Linked DNA regions of Homo sapiens: regions 2, 3 and 4 are each linked to region 1. The links are contacts of gene promoters, found by promoter capture Hi-C in blood cells and fetal thymus (Javierre and others, 2016). All regions are on one chromosome and are shown on one strand. The core of a region is centred on a gene start or on the middle of the fragment in contact, and the rest is flanking DNA. Distances in the headings are between cores, read along the strand shown.

The links. Contacts are between HindIII fragments. The CHiCAGO score rates a contact against its expected background, and 5 or more counts as called.
Region 2: a fragment that was not itself captured here is called in contact with the fragment with the promoter of RAB43 in region 1 in 1 of 17 cell types (activated CD4 T cells); the score reaches 5.5 in activated CD4 T cells.
Region 3: a contact is called between a fragment that was not itself captured here and the fragment with the promoter of RAB43 in region 1, in 1 of 17 cell types (total CD8 T cells). The highest score is 7.5, in total CD8 T cells.
Region 4: a fragment that was not itself captured here is called in contact with the fragment with the promoter of RAB43 in region 1 in 1 of 17 cell types (naive CD4 T cells); the score reaches 5.7 in naive CD4 T cells.

What each region holds. Positions count from the first base shown.
Region 1 is chr3:129,119,541-129,124,616 of GRCh38, forward strand. It overlaps RAB43 (RAB43, member RAS oncogene family), which reads right to left and starts at 2,264. Exons shown (of 3, transcript NM_198490.3): 1 at 1,746-2,264. The coding sequence starts at 1,949. The region is part of intron 11 of ISY1-RAB43 (ISY1-RAB43 readthrough); the gene reads right to left. RefSeq lists an enhancer at 348-1,293 and silencers at 2,074-2,253, 2,274-2,493. The HindIII fragment of the contact is 2,447 bases long and covers 1,077-3,523 here.
Region 2 is chr3:128,637,063-128,642,138 of GRCh38, forward strand. It overlaps RPN1 (ribophorin I), which reads right to left. Exons shown (of 10, transcript NM_002950.4): 3 at 737-1,043. Among named protein-coding and RNA genes, the nearest start is that of RPN1, 11 kb to the right of the region's middle. The HindIII fragment of the contact is 2,410 bases long and covers 840-3,249 here.
Region 3 is chr3:128,675,630-128,680,705 of GRCh38, forward strand. It overlaps the pseudogene POU5F1P6. Among named protein-coding and RNA genes, the nearest start is that of RPN1, 27 kb to the left of the region's middle. RefSeq lists enhancers at 4,891-5,076, 5,058-5,076. The HindIII fragment of the contact is 1,502 bases long and covers 1,282-2,783 here.
Region 4 is chr3:128,796,600-128,801,675 of GRCh38, forward strand. RAB7A (RAB7A, member RAS oncogene family) reads left to right here. Exons shown (of 6, transcript NM_004637.6): 3 at 1,344-1,470. It also overlaps the pseudogene RPS15AP16. Among named protein-coding and RNA genes, the nearest start is that of MIR12124, 48 kb to the right of the region's middle. The HindIII fragment of the contact is 2,076 bases long and covers 1,017-3,092 here.

The DNA of each region.
Region 1 (5,076 bases), core at 1,014-3,513:
GCACCTGTAACCCAGCTGATTCCCAACAGCCTCTCAAGAAGGTCAGCGGCTATAACTTGGAGAGGTGTTTACCACAGCTACACAGCTCTTCTGCTCCCTGGGCCCCGGGCTGCTTCCTAGGAAGGACAATCTGGAGGCAACCATAAGGAAAGAAAATAACGAACTGCCTGGCCCTGCATTGCATAACCCGTGCGCAGTAAACCAGGAGCTCTGCTGGGACACAGTCTGTTATCTCAACAGGTAAACAGGAACCCTGCCCCCTCCCTGACCACCGTCAGCACTGGGCCACCACAGACACTCCAGACACAGACCGATAGCACATGAGGAGGACACCACTGCTCTTTAGCCTGTATTTTCACACTCCCATTTCCCTGCAGCTGCTGGCATCATCACTGGGCACACTCAATAACGGACACTCCACCCACTCCAGCCCTTCCCTGGCTACCTGCTCCAAAAGGGTGGTCCCGAGTGACTCAAAGCTGCCTTCTGCACCTTGCTCTTTTCCATCCACGGAGACCAAAACACAGACCCCAGAAGACGATTAAAATATAATAATAATAAAACCCCTCAGGCAGGAGTTTCTGCTTCCCCGTCACATCTACTGAGAGGCACTGTGGACACATAAAGACTGTTGACTTACTTTTTTCTCCACCTTGGGGCAGGAGGGAGGCAACACCCAGAAATTATCCCAATTTTATAGAAACAAAGACAAAGAGCTACATATCCTAGCCAAAGGCAACAAGGAGCAGGCCTAGAGCCACCCGGAGAGGCAGAGCCCAGCAGCAGCAAGGCTCCAGTGACTCCCATCTCCCTGGCAGAGATCGTCCCAGCCCTGTGCCCTGAGGGTGTCCTGAAGATCATGGGGGCTCGAAACCATGAAAGCAAGCAAAGATTTCTGTACAGTGCGGTTCAGAAAAGTTACTGAGTGCCTTCAGCCCAGGATCTCCTGGTTGATTAGGGAGTACTAACACCTAGGTTAAGAAACTCTGATTTCATTCATCACAAATATTTATCAAACCACTGCCAGGACATTGTGGCAACCACATCCTGCTGTTTTTATTCGGAGCCATTGCCAAAGCTTGGTTCTCTCCCCCACCTTCCGGTATCTGTGAAGTTTTCAGTTTCTATCAAACTCCAGCTGGGGGAGGGAACCGGGGCTGGCCCTAGTCGAGTAAAGTTCCACCACCAGGTCCACAAAGAGACTGCAGGGAGGCGTGGCCAGGCCGGAAATTCTGACAAAAAGTTTTGGCCCTCTGGTCCTAAAAGCAACTACTTCCTGATCGCTCCTAGTCCTGGGGTGGGGATGCAGTTCTCTGGCTGAGTGCCCCGCCGGTGGGCTGAGCTGGGGGCTGCCATCGCGGTGGATGGAGGTGGGGGGTCTGATCTCCGCACTCCAAGGCGCTCCGCTAGTACCTGGAACAGGGGAGTCTAACCCCCTGCCTTCCAATGGCTAAAGTTATTTTGGAGCACAGTCCCCTCCTAGGGTGTGAGCTCCGGAGGGCAGGGCCGCCTCCTCCACACTCCCTCGCCCCCCCCCCCCCCAGCAACCCACGGCCGGCGCTTTGAGGACTTGAACCCGGCCCAGACCCCGGGGCCCAGGCCTGCTCCGACCCGAGGAAGGAAAAAGGGGAAGCCAAAGGAAACTTCAGATGGACGCGGGGTGCGCTCGCCGCGGCCAGGGGCTCCGCTGCCCCCGCCCCACCCTCCGAGGGAGCGCCTTCCAGGGGCCCTGGCCGGCCTCCCACCTTGACCCGCTTGCCCTGGATCTCCAGCGTCTTCATGGTGAAGTCGACGCCGATGGTGCTTCCCTGGCGCTCCGAGAAGGCGCCGGTCTTGAAGCGCTGCACCACGCACGTCTTGCCCACGCTTGCGTCGCCCACCAGCACCAGCTTGAACAGGAAATCGTACTGCTCGTCCGGGTCCCCCGGGCCTGGGCCCGGCCCTGCCATGGCCTAGAAGAAGCCGAAGGGCCGGCGCTCTGGACGCTGGGACCGGCCTGAGCTCACGCAAGCCGCGGGCCGAGCTCCGCCCGCTCCAGCCCACGGGCCGCCTGGCTACGTGGAGCCGCCGCAACACCTGAACCCCCAGCACTGCCGACCGCCTGCCTCGGCCTCGGCCCCGCCCCACCCCGGCTGGCTCCCGCCCCGGCCCGGCTCGGCCCCGCCCGGACCCGGTGCCCCGCGGGTTCGGCTCCCCCCCGGACCCGCCAAGCCGGGCCCTCCGCAAAGCTCCGGCCGGTCCTCAGCTCCGTGCCACACCAGTCTGGCCTGTAGGCCCGCCCCAGCCCGCCCCCGCCCGCCCCCGGCTCCGCCCTCAGGCTGGCACCCACTCCGCCCCCAGCCCAACCCTCGGGCCCACCTCAGCCCGACCCGGGTTCCGCCTACGTCCCCGCCCCCGACTCCGCCCTCAGCTCCGACCTCGACTCCGCCCCCAGGCCCACCTCAGCGCGCCCCGACTCCGACCCGACTCTGCCCTCAGCCCGACCTCGACTCCGCCCACAGGACCACCTCAGCCCGCCCCGACTCCGCCCTCAGCCCGAACTCGACTCCGTCCCCAGCTCCGACCTCGACTCTGCCTTCAGGCCCACCTCAGCCCTCCCCGACTCCGCCTTCAGCCCGACCTCGACTCCGCCCTCAGGCCCACCTCAGCACACCGCCCCGACTCCGCCCACAGGCCCACCTCAGCCCGCCCCGACTCCGCCCTCAGGCTCACCTCAGCTCTGACTCCGCCCCACCCGACTCCGCCCTCAGCCCCGACCCCAGCCCGACCCCGCCCTCAGCACCTCGGCCCCTCCTCCATCAACACCCCGGCGCGCCCACACCGCGGATCCGTCTGGCCCCCAAACCGCTGCCCACCCCGACCCTTCATCAGCTGGGACCCCCAGGTGCTGTCCCGCGCCTCCTGCTCGCCCCCCACCCAGGCCTGGTCCGCCTGCCCGGGATCCCCTACCTGCTGCCTCCCAGACCGCCGGTCAGGGACAGGCGGAGACCATGGCTGGAGCTCCGGGCCTGCAGGCCTAGACTAAGAATGACCCCCTCCGGAATGGATCACGGAGGAAGGGGACGACCACAGCAGTGTCACCTGAGTGCCCACTCTGACAGGCGGGCAGTGCAGTCTCCGAGAGTGGTGGGGGTCGCTCTTCCCAGGGGCGGAAGGGAAGGGAGGGAGCAGGCTGCAGAAGGCCAGAATCCAGGCTGGCTACAAAACTGCGGAGGAGCCCAAAATCCTTGTGAGGAGAGGACCCAGGGCCCCATTTGATGGGAAGCTAGGCCAGAAGGAGGAGCTGGGAGCTCTTGTCTCCAAAAGGCAGCCTAGCAGTGGTTGAAGCAGCTGCTAAACGGCTGGATGACCCAGCTCAGAGCAGCTACAGGCCCATTTGGGAAACTGACCCAGCCAAAAAGCACCAGTCTAGGAAGAGGAACAGAAAAACTTGAAGGGATTTCTGAGGAAGGGCAGACCAACTCCTGAGTTGGCCCAGTGAACCAGGGCGCCTCAGAGAAAGGAGACCCAAACATCTGTAAGAAGCTTATACTAGATCCAACAGGACTGGGCTTCCCAGCTCCGAAGATGGGAAGGAATTGACAGCACCCCTTACCCCTCTAGACAGCTTCCTTGTGGCACTCCAATTCCAGGTATTCAACATATTTAATGAATGGCTACTACAGGCGGGCATTGTCCTGGGGCCTTGTAATGCACCTGTGGACAAAGCAGACAAAAATCCAGGAGAAAAGGGGAAAGTCTTCAAGCTGAAGGAGACTTCGCAGAGAGCAAGTCCCCCAGTGCCACTGTGAGGACCCCAGCCAACCTTTCAGGTCAAGATAGAAAGGGACTGAATGAGCAGTCTGCAAAGGCAGACCCCGTGGAGAAGGCAGAAGAGTTGTTTCTTCTGAAAGTTTGAACTCCACTCCCATGGGAAATACCCAACAGAATCAGACAGGAAACCCCAAAGTGCCACTGAAAAGCAATTGAGAGCCCCACTTTGGTACACCTGATGGGAGCGGAGAGTTAGAGAGGCAGGAAATAACCTCCACTCCAGGGTAGAAGTAGACAGGAGATGGGATGGAAGGTTTCTGCATGCTGGGACTAGCTCAGGTCAAAGTCCAGAACTCCAGAAAACAAGGCCTGCCCCCAGCTCAGAGCAGCTACCACAGCACAAAATGGTGTGGAATCCAGGAGCCAGGATGAAGCGTAGGGGTAGACGGTGGTTGGATAGCTAACTGGCCTTTCCACTGCTCTAGCCTGGAACTGGTTGGGCTGGGGCAGGGGACATGTTGGTCTGAGTATAGATTTTGTCAGAAAACCCAGGCACCACTCCCTTGCCTTTGCGGGGTGATTCTAAAATTGGACTGTGGTAAGGGTTGCACAACTCCTCAAGTTTATTAAAATCATTAAAATGTAAACTTACAACCTGTGGGTTTTATGGTATGTAAATTATACCTCAATAAAGCTGTCTAATATCTGCATTTCCTCTTTTGGTGGTAAATTCCTGAGTAGCACAGTGGCATTTTATTTGAAATGGAATCATGCTAATTTGAAATGCAGCAATTAAAAAATATTTATGTTTCATTTAATACACCAAATTTGAAAAAATGTATATTGCACTTTTTTTTTTTTTGAGACGGAGTCTCGCTCTGTCACCCAGGCTGGAGTACAGTGGCGCGATCTCGGCTCACTGCAAGCTCCGCCTCCCGGATTCACGCCATTCTCCCGCCTCAGCCTCCCGAGTAGCTGGGACTACAGGCGCCCGCCACCATGCCCAGCTAATTTTTTGTATTTTTAGTAGAGACGGGGTTTCACCGTGTTAGCCAGGATGGTCTCGATCTCCTGACCTCATGATCCACCCACCTCGGCCTCCCAAAGTGCTGAGATTACAGTCGTGAACCACCGCACCCGGCCTATATTGCAAAATTTTTAAAATAGGTCAAGAATTTAGTTGCCGGGCACGGTGGCTCACGCCTGTAATCCCAGCACTTTGGGAGGCTAAGATGGGCGGATCACGAGGTCAGGAGATCGTGACCACCCTGGCTAACATGGTGAAACTCCGTCTCTACTAAAAATACAAAAAATTAGCCGGGT
Region 2 (5,076 bases), core at 795-3,294, 480 kb before region 1:
CCCGTCTCTACAACAAAAATAAAAAATTAACTGGGCATGGTGACGCACACCTGTCACTCCAGCTACATGGGAGGCTGAGCTGGGAGGATGGACTGAGCCCAGGAGTTTGAGGTTACAGTGAGCTATGATTATGCCACTGTACTCCAGGCTGGGCAACAGAGCAGGATCCTGTCTCTTAAAAAAAAAAATTTTTTTAAGTACTCCACCAAAGAAAAAAAGAGGTAGGTTAATTATGGTAACCTGATAACCGCTGAATCTAAGTGACGTGTGTGGGAGTTTATACTAGTCTTTGTACTTTGGCATGTTTGCGATTTGCCATAGTAACAAAATCTTTGTAAGCCTTAATTGCTCCCTCTCTCTTCAAGTTCCAACCAAGGCCCAACATTCAAGGAAGGCCCTCAACCACTCCAACAGCTTTGCTACCCCAGTATCTGCCCAGCCACACCATCTCAAAGCCTTTGTCCCTCTTACTGCCTCTGCGTGGAATGCCTTGCTTCCATCTCCAACACCCATTCCACCTCTCCAAATGCTACCCCTAGCCTCTACCTGTGATCCCCCAAGGAGAAACAAGACCCCCATGGAGTCATTTCACTGCAGGTTAAACACTTTTGGGATGACCTTAGAAATGACTGCAGATTTCATCCACCCCACACCACCCAAGCCTATCAACCAGTAGTCACTCTGCAAGACATTCTCTGAAGCAGACAGGGATGGGCTGGACTCCACCTGAGCTTACCTGACTATAGGCAGGCACATCTCTGAAAGGCCCATAATCCAGTAGGTCCTCAGAGCGCGTGGGGTTCCCCAGCTTGGTGTAGCTCTCCACATTTCGAGAGGCAAGCTTCACACGCATGGTTTGTGTCTTCGTTGGATAGGGAGAGTAGAAATAATGGTTCCCCTCAAACACCACAAACTGTTTCTCTGACTGGGTGATCTGGGTTGGATACGGATGAAGCACATGGGTGTAGACTGTTTCCACAATGACTGAAATCTTGGCCCCAGGATCAAGAGCAACTGGGAGCTTGACTGTGAAGAATCTCCCACTAAAGGAAGAACAAGGCAAGAGAAGTAAGAGAGACTGAGGATACTGAAAACAGTAGTAGCAGTTCAAAGTCACAACAAAATTTTGAACCAAAGACAAAAGCAATTATCTTTAAGAGATCACCTTTTCCTTTTTGAGATGGAGTCTCACTCTATCACTCAGGCTGGAGTGCAATGGTGCGATCTCGGCTCACCACAACCTCCACCTCTTGGGTTCAAGCGATTCTCCTGCCTCAACCTCCCGAATAGCTGGGATTACCTATTAGAATGTTTTTAACTTTTGTTCCATTGTTGAACATTTACACTGTTTTACACTCTTGCTATTTATAAACAGCCCTGAGAGAAACAGCTACATATCTGTCTTAGAAGACTTAAATTATTTTTTTCTTTTTTTGAGACAGAGTGTTGCTCTGTCGCCCAGGCTGGAGTGCAGTGGCATGATCTCAGCTCACTGCAACTTCCACCTCCCAGGTTCAAGAGATTCTATTGCCTCAGCCTCCCGAGTAGCTGGGACTACTGGCACCTGCCACCATGTCCTGTTAATAAAAGACTTAAATTACTATATTAAAGGTGATCTCTTGGCTGGGTGCAGTGGCTCATGCCTGTAATCCCAGCACTTTGGGAGGCCAAGTCAGGTGAATTTCCTGAGGTCAGGAGTTCCAGACCAGCCTGGCCAACATGGCAAAACCCTGTCTCTATTAAAAATACAAAAATTAGCTGGGCGTGGTGGTGCACACCTGTAGTCCCAGCTACTTGAGAGGTTGAAGTGGGAGGATCACTTGAACCCGGGAGGCGGAGGTTGCAGTGAGCCAAGATAGCGCCACTACACTCCAGCCTGGGTGACAGAGAGAGACTCCATCTCAAAAAAAAAAATTTTAATAGAACCACACAACAGAATACTGACAGTCGTTAGAAATATGGCTTCACACAATAGAATATTGGCAGTCATTAGAAATATGGCTAACCTACATATCTATATTAACATGGAAAGATGTCCATGTACAATGTAAATAACGAAAATCTGTTTACAAATGACAAAGAATAACTCCATTTAAAAACATACATAGACCCGGGGAGGGTGGCTTACGCCTGTAATCCCAGCACTTTGGGAGACCGAGATGGGTGGATCACGAGGTCAGGAGATCAAGACCAACCTGGCTAACACAGTGAAAGCCCATCTCTACTAAAAATACAAAAAAAAATAGCCGGGCGTTGTGGCGGGCACCTGTAGTCCCAGCTACTCAGGAGGCTGGGGCAGGAGAATGATGTGAACCCGGAAGGCGGAGCTTGCAGTGCGCCGAGATCGTGCCACTGCACTCCAGCCGGGCGACAGAGCGAGATACCGTCTCAAGAAAAAAAAAAAAAAAAAAATGAATGAATGTAAAGAATAGTATTTCAAGGAATGTTCAACAAAATGTTAATGGTAACTGTCTCAAGGTTGTAGAATAAGTTTAGTTTGTCTTTTCCAATTTCATTTTATTTTTTATTATTATTATTTTTTGAGACGGAGTCTTACTCTTGTAGCCCAGGCTGGAGTGAAATGGCACAATCTTGGCTCACCGCAACCTCCGCCTGCTGGGTTCAAGTGATTCTCCTACCTGAGCCTCCCCAGTAGCTGGGATTACAGGCGTCCGCCACCACGCCCAGCTAATTTTTGTGTTTTTAGTACAGAGGGGATTTCGCCACGTTGGCCAGGATGGTCTGAACTCCTGACCTCAGGTGATACACCCGCCTCGGGCTCCCAAAGTGCTGGGATTACAGGCATGAGCCACTGCGCCAGGCCCTAATTTGTCTTATAAGGAGCTTGTATCATCCTCATATCAAGAAAAAAATAAAGCTACTAATATTTTAAAGAAAAACAGATGGCTGACCAGCCTTACCAACAAGGTGAAACCCTGTCTCTACTAAAAGTACAAAAATTAGCCGGGCGTGGTGGCAGGCGCCTGTAGTCCCAGATACTCGGGAGGCTGAGACAGGAGAATTGCTTGAACCTGGGAGGCGGAGGTTGCAGTGAGCCGAGATTGTGCCACTGCACTCCAGCCTGGGTGACGGAGCGAGAATCCATCTCAAAAAAGGAAAAAAAAGAAAAACAGATGGCCTGGAAACTTAAAATTCACAGGGTACTAATTCTAAACTGAATCAGTTTTCCAAGCCAGGAGAACAATTTTTAGAAGACGTAGAAACCACTAGTGAAAAATTGAATTAATAAGCTTCAATGAGTTTGTCCTCAAAGGTGAGAACATGGATCACTCTTCCTGATATGACTTTATAGAACACAAAACTTGCATGTCTTTATCAGTCACACCATTATATTTCATATTACAACTGTGACGTTCACTACTCAAAATATAAGTAGCGGAATCTTCTCCTCAGGACAGTCTTAACCAATTCTTAGTTTCAAGTCCCAAATGTGCTTCTCATCCCACTCTCTGTCCTGAATTCTAAAATCAAATTTTCAAATGTTTACTAGACAGCTCCACTGACCACCCCACATGCAATTCAACAAAACCTTATCATTCATGATCCCAAGTCTTGATCTCTCTTAATACCACTGCCATCTGATCAACTCTAAGCTAGAAACCCAGGCATCTTCTGATGCCTCACTCTGCCCTGTCCCCAATACCTGGGCAATCCTGCCTCAGAAATTCCTCTCAGACCCATCCCTTCCTTTGCCTCCTCCTCCATTCAAACCAATACCATGTGCCTAGACTACTGCATCTCTTCCTATTAATCTCCTAATCTCCCTTCCCCCCAGCCCATCTACACAATCTCAAATCAACATTCCCACATTCATTTTACAAGTTGTTAAATGCTGCCACATAATTTAATTTTGCTTTGATAATTCAGAAGACAAATCAGAACCTTTCAGCACTCCAAGATCATTAGGAACATCAAGTCTTACCAAAATGTGGAAGCACCAGCTAATGAAGGTTTTTCAATCAATAAAAGGCTAGACAACACAGAACTGTCTAAACTGATGTACATGGAGCAGGTCTTTTTTTTTTTTCCTAAAGCTCTTCTCTAGCTGGATCTAATGGGAGAACATTGTGTGAATGACTTGGTTTTTTACTCATGTACTCAAACTGATTTACTGAGAACCCCATATAGGTCAGTTTCTGTGGCAGGAAGAGGTGATAAAGACAAATTCATATAATGTATGCACATATAACTAGAAATGAATAAAATGGTAAGCTATGAAAAAAAATTTTTTAATGTTCCCAACTGTGGGCTTTAAGGATAAAGCCCACGCCTTTAATAATGGTTCAGAGCAGTCCTTAAACTGAACTCAACCCACCCTACACAGCTTCACCTTCCTCTGAGCAAGAGCCACTCTGAAAGCCCAGTTAACTAAACACACCATGAAATGTCAACCCTCCGTATCTTTACAGATATCTCTGCCTGAAATGTTCCTTCCATTCCATTAGCCTTCTTTGTGATTAATTCAAAATTTATTAAGTGCTTACTAAGGCTCCAAGTACATTATATATATATTGATTTAGTGAATCTTTTTTTTTTTTTTTTTTTTTGACACGGAGTTTTGCTTTTGTTGCCCAGGCTGGCAATGGCATAATCTCGGCTCACCGGAACCTCTGCCTCCCGGTTCAAGTGGTTCTCCTGCCTCAGCCTCCCGAGTAGCTGGGGTTACAGGCATGCACCACCACTCCTGGCTAACTTTTTTGCATTTTTAGTAGAGATGGGGTTTCTCCATGTTGGTCAGGCTGGTCTCGAACTCCCAACCTCAGGTGATCTGCCTGCCTCGGCCTCCCAAAGTGCTGGGATTACAGGCGTGAGCCACCACGCCTGGCCAATTTAGTGACTCTTAGCCATGATCATATCAGGTAAACACTATTATTTTACTGATGAGGAAACTGAGGAAAATGCTAGTAAACATAACAGAGCTAGGATTTGATCCCAGGCAGTAAAGATGCAAAAAGCACAGTCCTAATAACTAAGTTACCTTGCCTATCCAAGACGCTACAAGCCAGCAGCTAGAGCCAATAAACACAGACAGGGTACTCAGACAGCCTCAGAGAG
Region 3 (5,076 bases), core at 783-3,282, 440 kb before region 1:
AGTCAGAAGTTCAAGACCAGCCTGGCCTGTAACATGGAGAAACCCCGTCTCTACTAAAAATACAAAAATTAGCTGGGCATAGTGGCACATGCATGTAATCCCAGCTACTTGGGAGGCTGAGGCACGAGAATCGCTTGAACCCAGGAGGCAGAGTGAAACGCCTAACCTTGTTTTTACTCTAACTCGTTACTTTGAATTTTATCCTGCTTGTCTCTTTAATCACCTAGCCTTGCTTCTCATGTAAATAAGACTCTCTCTAGCTGGGAAAGCCAGACAAACTCCAATTGACCCCTTAATTTACAAGATACTAAGGGCTCCTTACCCAACCCCCTTCCGCAAGGAGTTAACCTGTGTAAGCAGATCCTCAGCATTTCAAAGTAGCCCAATTAACTGATAAGGTACTAGCACCAACAATGTATGAAGTTCCCAGGATTTTTCTCAAAGAGATAACAACATAAAGCCTTGAGTTCCTGTCCGGCATACCCCCTATATCTAATTATAATAAAGGTTTAAAGCCTTGCACCTGGTACCGTTGCTCTTCTTGTAACCATTTGTCTTTTAAATTGTTTATCTCTTTGTAACCATTTTTTTTTTATTCTTGCATGTTTTTACTTCTGTAGAATTATTGCATTTGAGTTCCCCTCCCCTTCCTAAACCTAGGTATAAAAGTTAATCAACCCCCTTCCTCGGGGCCAAGAGAATTTTGAGCGTTAGCCGTCTCTTTGGCCGCCGGCTTAATAAAGGACTCTTAAATCGTCTCAAAGTGTGGCGTTCTCTCTAACACCCCTGGGCACAACAAGAGGTTGTGGTGAGCGAAGGTCACGCCACTGCACTCCAGCCTGGGCAACAGAGTGAGACCCTGTCTCAAAAATAAATAAACAAATAAATAAACATTTAAAAAAAGAGCCCCCAGGGTGAGCCCCACACGGGCCTGGATATATCCCAGGGTGATCCTCTTCTGCTTCAGGAGCTTGGCAAATTACAGAGCTTTGATGTCCTGGGACTCGTTGAGGTTTTGCTCCAGCTTCTCCTTCTCTAGCTTCATGGCACCAGCTGGGGCAGTGCAAGGCTCCAGGGAGGCCCCTCACAGTTGCTCTCCACCCAGGCTCCTGCCTCGCCCTCAGGCTGAGAGGTCTTCAAGCCACCTTGGGGCACTAGCCCCACTGCAACCGGAGACCCAGAGTATACCATCTGCCCACGGAACTCATGCAGTGGGGGGCACGGGAGAAACCCCCACATCTCAGAGCCTGGCCCAACACCCGGCCCAATTCCTGCCTTGGAAGCTTAGCCAAGTCCAGCTCCCGCCCCGCTGACCCATTACCTCCACCACCTGGAAGGGGCAAGAAGGTGAAATCCAAAGCCAGGTGTCCCACCATGGGGAAGGAAGGCTCCCCAAGCCAGGGATCTGGTGAAATGAGGCAAAAAGTTTTTAAATTTTAAAAAAAGTTGTTTTAGAAATGAGGTCTTGCTATGTTGCCCAGGCTGGAGTGCAGTGGCTATTCACAGGCATGATCATGGCTCATTACAGCCTGGAACTCCTGGGCTCAAGCGATCCTCCTGCCTCAGCCTTCTGAGTAGCTGGGACTACAGGCATGTGCCACTGTGACCTTCTTAAGGCTTTTGAAATTTTAAAAAGAAAAAGAGTCTGCATTCCTGACAACACACCAATGCCCCATACAAGACTCAGATGTGCCTGCCCTTATTGCTACTTATTGCTTGAGACAGATTAACCCTTGTCTGTTTAAGCCACTATAGAAGGCTACATTGTTATTTGCAATGTAATTTGCATTGTTATTTGCACTATAGAAGGCTACATTGTTATTTGCAGCCACAGTCATAATTATAATTATATGTGATAAATCTTGGAGCTTATTCTACAACAGTACTACTTTATTTTGTAGGAGGGGCTGCATAGAATTCCTGTTAAACAAATGTGTCTTTTTTTTTTTTTTGAGATGTGGTGTCACTCTGTCACCCAGGTTGGAGTGCAGTAGTGCGATCTCCACTCACTGCAACCTCTGCCTCTGCAGCTCAAGTGATCCTCCTGCCTCAGCCTCCTGAGTAGCTGGGACTACAGGTGCCTGCCACCACGCCCAGCTCATTTTTGTATTTTTTGTAGAGACAGCGTTTCACCATGTTGCTCAGGCTTGATGTGTCATTTTTCAAAAATCAAGCCAGTCCCCTATTTATGAACAATTAGTTTGCTTCCATGCTTTTGCCATTCAAACAGCCCTCAACTGTACCTCTTTCTACGTTTGTCTGTGCACATGGGGGAATACATATGTAAGATAGTTTCCTTGGCCCTGAAGTGCTTAATCAAAGGATTGGTACAAAGGATTAATGTTACATTAACAGATATGCCAGCTTGCCTCCTCATGGAGTTGTAAAAATGTACACTCCCACTTGTAGGTATCACAGCCTGCTTTCCCCAGCCTTGCAAACAGTGTCCCATCACAAGTCATTCTGAATGCTAGTATAGGACACCAAATCTCTCTTTCCTCCTAACAACCTGGCTAGGCAGCCAGGACAGGGATTCCTATTTACTACACTCTGGTTTTATAGGTAAGTAAACAGATTCCCAAGGATAAGGAACCTACTTTTCCCAACCTCAACCTGAATTTCTGGGATTAATACCTTCTAAGAATAGATATGAATGTGTAGTGTTGTAGCAGTAGCAGTAGTATTTAATAGTAGTAGTAGTAGTGTAGTACCATCATCCCCATTCCCCATTCCTCAAGCTGGAAGCCATTCTTTTCTTCACTTCTGGTGGAGATGGGGACAAAAGCTTTGTTTCTTTTTTTTTTTTTTGAGACGGAGTCTCGCTCTGCCACCCACGTTGGAGTACAGTGGCAGGATCTCGGCTCACTGCAACCTCCACCTCCCGGGTTCAAGCAATTTTCCTGCCTCAGCCTCCAAATTAGCTGGGATTACAGGCCTGCAACACCATGCCCAGTTAATTTTTGTTTTGTTTTGTTTTGTTTTTTGAGACAGAGTCTGGCTCTGTCGCCCAGGCTGGAGTGGAGTAGCACGATCTCAGCTCACTGCAACCTCCATCCCCCTAGTTCAAGCGATTCTCCTGCCTCAGCCTCCTGAGTAACTGGGATTACAGGTATGTGCCACTAAGCACAGCTAATTTTTTTTTTTTTTTTTAGATGGAGTTTTACTCTTGTTGTCCAGGCTGGAGTGCAATGGCGCAATCTCAGCTCACTGCAACCTCCACCTCCTGGGTTCAAGTGATTCTCCTGACTCAGCCTCCTGAGTAGCTGGGATTACAGGCATGCACCACCATGGCCGGCTAATTTTGTATTTTTAGTAGAGATGGGGTTTCTCCATGTTGGCCAGGCTGGTATAAAACTCCTGACCTCAGGTAATCCGCCCGCCTCAGCCTCCCAAAGTGCTGGGATTACAGGTGTGAGCCACTGCTCCCGACCCATTTTTTCTTTTTTCTTTTTTCTTTTTTTGTATTTTTAGTAGAGATGGGGTTTCACCATGTTGGCCAGGCTGGCCTAGAACTTCTGACCTCAATTGATTCTCCCATCTTGCCCTCCCAAAGTGCTGGGATTACAGGTGTGAGCCACTGCACCTGCCCAAGAGCTTTGTTTCTATCCTTTCTAGTCCATTCCCTCATAATTTCTGAGCCCCAATCCTTCCCTTCTTCCAACCCTCTTCTCTTTGTTTTCCTACTAGGCCTGCCTTTGCGAAGTCCCACTGTAGATCATAAGGAGGCTGCAAGAACTGATGAGTGGTCCATTTCCTTGCAACCTCTAGAAGCCGGAATATACTTCAGGCAGGGCCTTGTTACCAGAGACAATGTGTAGCAGTTAAGGCCAGAGCCTTCCACTCCACACCACCCAGGAATTGCTATGGCTGTTCTGTGACCTTGGCCAAGTTACTTCTGCTTTCTTCACTGTCCTTATTTGTCAAATGGGAATGCTAGTACTAATCACCTCACAGAGTTGTAGTAAAAACTGCAGGCTGGTGTAGTGGCTCACATCTGTAATACCAGCACTAAGGGAGGCAGAGGTGCGAAGATAGCCTGAGGCCAGGAGTTGGAGACCAGCCTGGCTAATACAGAGAGAACCCCATCTACACACATGCACCTGTGACTGTAAAGACTACGTGACTGTTGCTACTACATTATTATTATTATTAACAGAGGACACTATTAAGAATCCAGCATTGTAATCTGAATACTCATTTTAATCCTTCCAACGATCCCCCAGATCGTTGTCTCATTTCACGAAAGAAAAGGAGCCTCTAATCCCATCCCTACCAGGGTTTGGCAAAGTGGGCAAGTGAGAGGCTCAACCATGAGCTTCAGTTCCTCCTCTGTAAATGGTAACAATGGCACTGTCACAAAGAGGACCAAGTGAGACCACAGGAGGCCCGTGTGTGTGCGTGTGTGTGTGTATGTGCCAGAGACAGAAAGAGAGAGAGAGACAAAGTTTCACTCTTGCTGCCCAGGCTGGAGTGCAATGGTGCAATCTCAGCTCACCGCAACCTCCACCTCCTGGGTTCAAGCAATTCTCCTGCCTCAGCCTCCTGAGTAGCTGGGATTACAGGCATGCGCCATCATGCCCAGCTAATTTTGTATTTTTAGTAGAGATGGGTGAGTTCTCCATGTTGATGAAGCTGGTCTCGAACTCCCGACCTCAGATGATCCGCCTGCCTCGGCCTCCCAAAGTACTGGGATTACAGGTGTAAGCCACCCAGCCCGGGCTTTTTTTTGGGGGGGGACGAGTGTCCCTCTGTTGCACAGGCTGGAGTGAAGTGGCACGATCTCGGCTCACTGCAACCTCTGCCTCCTGGGTTCAAGCAATTCTCCTGCCTCAGGCTTCCAAGTAGCTGGGACTACAGACGCCACCACGCTGGCTAATTTTTGTATTTTTAGTAGAGACGGGGTTTCGCCATGTTGGCCAGGCTGGTCTCGAACCCCTGACCTCGTGGTCCGCCCGCCTCGGCCTCCCAAAGTGCTGGGATTACATGCTTGAGCCACCCCGCCGGCCGGCCGTTCTTAAACGCACGACTACTTCCCTAGCTTTCCAGCACCAAATCCAGCGGCCCCACCCGGCCACG
Region 4 (5,076 bases), core at 805-3,304, 320 kb before region 1:
CTTCCTTTGAAAAGCCAGAGGTTTTTCTGTCTTGACTGGCTTATTTGAATCACCTGCAGAACCTTTTTTTGTATGTGTGTGAGAGACAGGGTCTCGCTCTGTTGCCCAGACTAAAGTGAATGGTGCAATCACAGCTCACTGCAGCCTCAACCTCCTGGTCTTAAGCCATCCTCCCACCTCAGCCTCCAGAGTAGCTGGGACCACCAGTGTGTGCTACCACTCCTGGTTAAATTTTTGTATTTTTTATAGAGACAGGGTTCTACCATGTTGCCCAGGCTGGTCTCAAACTCCTGGGCTCAAGCAGTCCACTCGTCTCGACCTCCCAAAGTGCTGAGATTACAGGCTTGAGCCACCATGCCCAGCCTTTGAAGAACCTTTTGTTCGCTAGCATTTGCCCAGCCCCAGACCAGTGGGCTAGGGCCTAGATTTGTGCTCTCTCTCCTACCCCGCAACTCCATCCCCGTCGGGATGGAAAGATAGTGCTTTTAGGCCTGCCTTCCCCAAACTTGTGCAAAAAGTCTCACCAAGCCCTTGTTCGATTCCAGGTTTTGCCACCTCTCACCTTGTAGATTCTGGCTTAGATGGTCTGGGTTGGAAAACACTGCCTTCGGCTGTCTAGGTACCTCCAGGTTCTTTAACACAAATATGAACATGTTCCTTTGTGGCCAAGAAAGGTGATATCACTGGCTATGGGGGGGAAGGTTTTTGTATTAGCTTTAGGTTACCTTAACCTTATCACACAAAAATCACACATTGTCTCTTGCTGAGTTTTCTTACTAGAAAACATATTTGGAGGAGCATTCTTTGAGGTGGATTTGTTTTGGTGATATATTGGTGCTTTTTCTGCTTCAGATTTTAAACTTTAAAGCAGCAAATTGTCTGAGTGGTGTGTGTCTGCTGAAAGCCAAGGTCTTCCTCCTGGTGTTACTTCATCAAGCTAAATAGCAGCCACTAAATGGAGAAACATCTAAGATAGCAGGGATACTGTTGGAATAGCAGAACAGTCTTAATAGTGAAGCTTCTTTTAGAAAGCAGTATATTTGCTGGCATCCTTCTAGAATGGAAAAAATAATACTAGGCTCTACCATTTGACCTGGCTGTGCCAAAACATGTAAGCAGCTTTTCCACATCTGCCCCACATCTGTACCCTATATTTTTACCCAGAGAGAAAACACAAAACTTCAAAAGTGTAATGCTCGGAAGGCTACTGGCATTGCCCTTTGCTGTGAGGGCAGTTTCTTGTCCTTCAGGTCAGGCAGATTCTTTTAAATGCTTCAAGTAATTCGTGTCAGTTTCAGGACCCTCCTATTTGACTTATACTTATGGTTTTTCTCCAATTTCAGAGTCGGGAAGACATCACTCATGAACCAGTATGTGAATAAGAAATTCAGCAATCAGTACAAAGCCACAATAGGAGCTGACTTTCTGACCAAGGAGGTGATGGTGGATGACAGGCTAGTCACAATGCAGGTAAGCACATGTCTTGGCTGTGCTGACCAGGCCTTGATAGTTCATTTAGTCTTAATCTTTCCTCATGCATAGACATTTTCCTTCCCTGTTCTTCAAATCTTATTATCTTATTTGTAGATAATTGGCTGATACTCAGTTAAATTTGAATTTCAGATCAATAGTGAATACTTTTTTAGTATACTTCTAGTGTATCTCAGATACGACTTGCTAAGACACACTAAAAAATTCTTCTTAAAAAAAAACTCAGATTTATCCTTTCTTGTTTTTTGTTGTTTTTGGTTTTGTTGTTTGCTAAATTTGGCAACCTGCAGGTCTCTGTCTTGTGCCTCTCTTGACATCCTTGCCCAGTGCTTTAGGTAAACATCTTTGTCTCACCTCAGTAGTGAGACATAAACTTTATTTTTCTGACTTCCTATTTCATACGTAACTTCAAGAGTTGTGTGTCTATTGAGCCAATCTTTTTTTTATGTATCAGCTTATTAATCTTTCAAGGGTTCCCTTTCAACAGTTAGGATAAGATACAGATTCTTTCATATGACTTGTTGAAAAGCCTTCACATTCTGGCTATAAACTATTATTCCCTTTTTTTCCCCCATTGAGTCATTTTGTTTGTATACATGTATTAACATCCCTAGAAAAGAAACCCCTGAAGGATGGATACCTTGAGCCCAGGAGTTTGAGCCTGCAGTGAGCTGTGACTGCTCCATTATACTCCAGCCTGGGTGATGGAGTGAGACCCTGTCTCTAAATTTAAAAAAAAAAAAAAAAAAAAAAAAGAATCCCAGGATTTTCCCTCCTGTATTTTCATCTCTTTCTTCATGGTCCATGATGCCAGCTGAGGTTGTCAGTACAACCTCACTTTGAAACCAAACTATTGGGATAGGAGTAGATTATCCTGTCATTTTTCTAGATCTTTGAGTTGCACATCACATCTGGGGCCAATCATTCCAGGGGCAGTTTTAACCTGCCTGTGAGGTTTACAGTAATTTTCCCAGCTCTGTGATGACCAGTGATTTCAAATTTTCAATGTGATCATGTTTCATCTTCACACTTAGAACCAGACCATGACTTGGGAGCACAGCCTAATAAGAACCTGGTGTTTGCCCTTGAGAGCATCAGCCAAGACGTTCATGCATTACGGAGGCAAGAAAAGATGGTGGAAATAGCTGTTACTCACTTTTTTTTTTTTTGTCTCGTTCCAGTCATTCCGAATCATGTGCTGCTCTTACAGACTTGTGTTGGTGGATATGTCTCTGCTTCCAGCAGGGCCTGTATACCCACCTGAAGTCTCCAACTTTTAGCTCAGATCTTTGGAAACTTCTATCTCCATGGCAGTTGTTCTTTCCTATGTGCTTCTAGAGGCAAATACAATTCTAATCCCATTATAGTCCTAGAAAGTACCTGGCAAATAGTGGGGGCTTGCTGAAATGTGTGAATGATGTAGGTTAAAGGTAGAAATTTGTGCACGTGTTGACCTCGAGCCATGGCATGCTCCTAGAGGATCAGGACTCTTAATTGACTCACACTTCTAGGACAGAGCTGGTATGAATCTCTCATCCTCACCTCACCTACACACATACACCTAGAGATCTTCAAAATGTAACTACAGTTTAAGCAAGTCAAGCTTGAGAGTAGAACTGGAAAACCTTGGCCCAAGAAATTGGCAAAGCTTGTGTCTGCAGTTGTTGGAGATTCTCAGTCCCACTCTCCACATGTACAGAAATCTTTGTCTCAAAGGATTTAACATAAATCCCTGTCATTCCTGGCAAAAACAAGGGTAAGACCACTCTGTAGGGACATTTAGTACCGCAGGAGAGAAGATGAGTTCATAACCACATGAGGAAATAATGTACCACAAGAGATGTTCACAATGACTAGAGATGTTCTAAAAAGAAATAGAAACCATAATGGAAAGGGATACTATAAAAAAATGAGGATATGGAAAACTTAGAACTTCAAGAAGTGAAAACATAGTATTGAAATAAGCTAAAGGAACAGTTAAACTGTAGATTAAATGGAGCTGAAAAAAGCAGTAAGCCGTAAGAGCTGAGCAAATTTTCTAAAAGAAGACTTAAAATTGTAGAAGACCGAAAAGCAAAATCTTAAGAGCAACTATAGAAAAAAAAGACATGACTTATAAAGGAACAACAGACTGACAAATTCTCAACAGAAGGCAGAAGGGAGTAGAATTACTTCAGGGAGCTGGGGTAAAGGCCCATCTGAAGATTCTCCATGTGTCACAGCAAGACTCAGACTGCCTTTTGCTGAGGGAAAATAGAACTTCTCCAGCTGAGCTGTGGTTTTGGTAGCCATGTGGGCCAGCGAATTCAGAAATCAGAGTTCGGCCCCTGCTGGGTCGGGGGTTGTCATAACAGTCCCGTCTGTACTACTAAGCTGGGACCTTGGGGCGCTGCACTCTTGAAGTAAACCCCATCAGGAGATCCACAGCGCACTGTGGGCTTCTCAAGAAGCCCAAATTCCAGGAAGGATAAATAAAAAGAATTCTGTGTAAGTCATAATGAAACTAAAAAAGAAAAAGGCTTAAAAATAGACTGAGGAAAACCTGACAAGCACAGCACTGAGGCTGTCAGGTGACTCTTGGCAGTAGCAGCAGAGCCCAGCAGGCAGTGGGGTATGTTGGGAAAGAGACGGGCAGCACAGTGTTCTGTCTCTGCTGAAATAACCCTCCTGAATGAAAGAGTACATCTTTAAGGGCTAGTGGCAGAAGTTCTAAAGGATAACTCCAGGCAGAAAGTGATTTCATGTAGATGAGGAAAGAGTGGAAAAAGATAACAAGTTCCCAAGAGATTGAAGCAAAAGGATGACCCTTGTGCTCTTGCAGCCAGCTTCAGATACTAGAAGTAAATGAAAATCATTGTCTCTGCACAAAGGCGTCATTATCCTGATCTTGAGGAATCCTCATGTGTTTTTCGAGGGCTTTTAGCAGCTTGCAGTAAAACATAATCAAAATAAAACAAGGCACCACAAGAAAGAACCAGTGGAAACTTCCCTGGTAATTCCAGAGTGTTTTTTGTATTTAAAGAAATAAGGAGGATACAGAGTTTCAGTTATATGAGATGAATAAATCCTAGAGATGTGTACAGCATAGTGCCTGTAGTTAACAATACTGTATTGTACACTTAAAAATTTGCATGCTGGATGCGGTGGCTCATGCCTGTAATCCTAGTGCTTTGGGAGGCCAAGAGAGGAGTTTGAGACTAGCCTGGGCAAAATAGCACATTTCATCTCTACAAAAAAATTTTTTGAAAGAATTTACTAAGAGGATCTTATTTTAAGTGTTCTTATCACAAAAAGTAATAATAAGAGGATGGGGGGAACCTTTTGATGAGTAGGTTTGTGGCCTACATTGTAGTGATGGTTTGTGTGCAGCCTTTGTATGTCAGCCATACCTCACTAAAGGGGCTTTGGTTAAAGATAAGATAATCGTTTATCTGCAGGGAAGAAACGAAACAGTTAACATTGATAGGGGGAGAAAATGAAGCACAATCAATGAAATTTGGAAATTCAGAGAATGCTGCTAAATCATAGCAGATTGGCCACACCAGAAAAGGGCTGGAAGAATGAAAGAAAAATGGCAGGAAATAT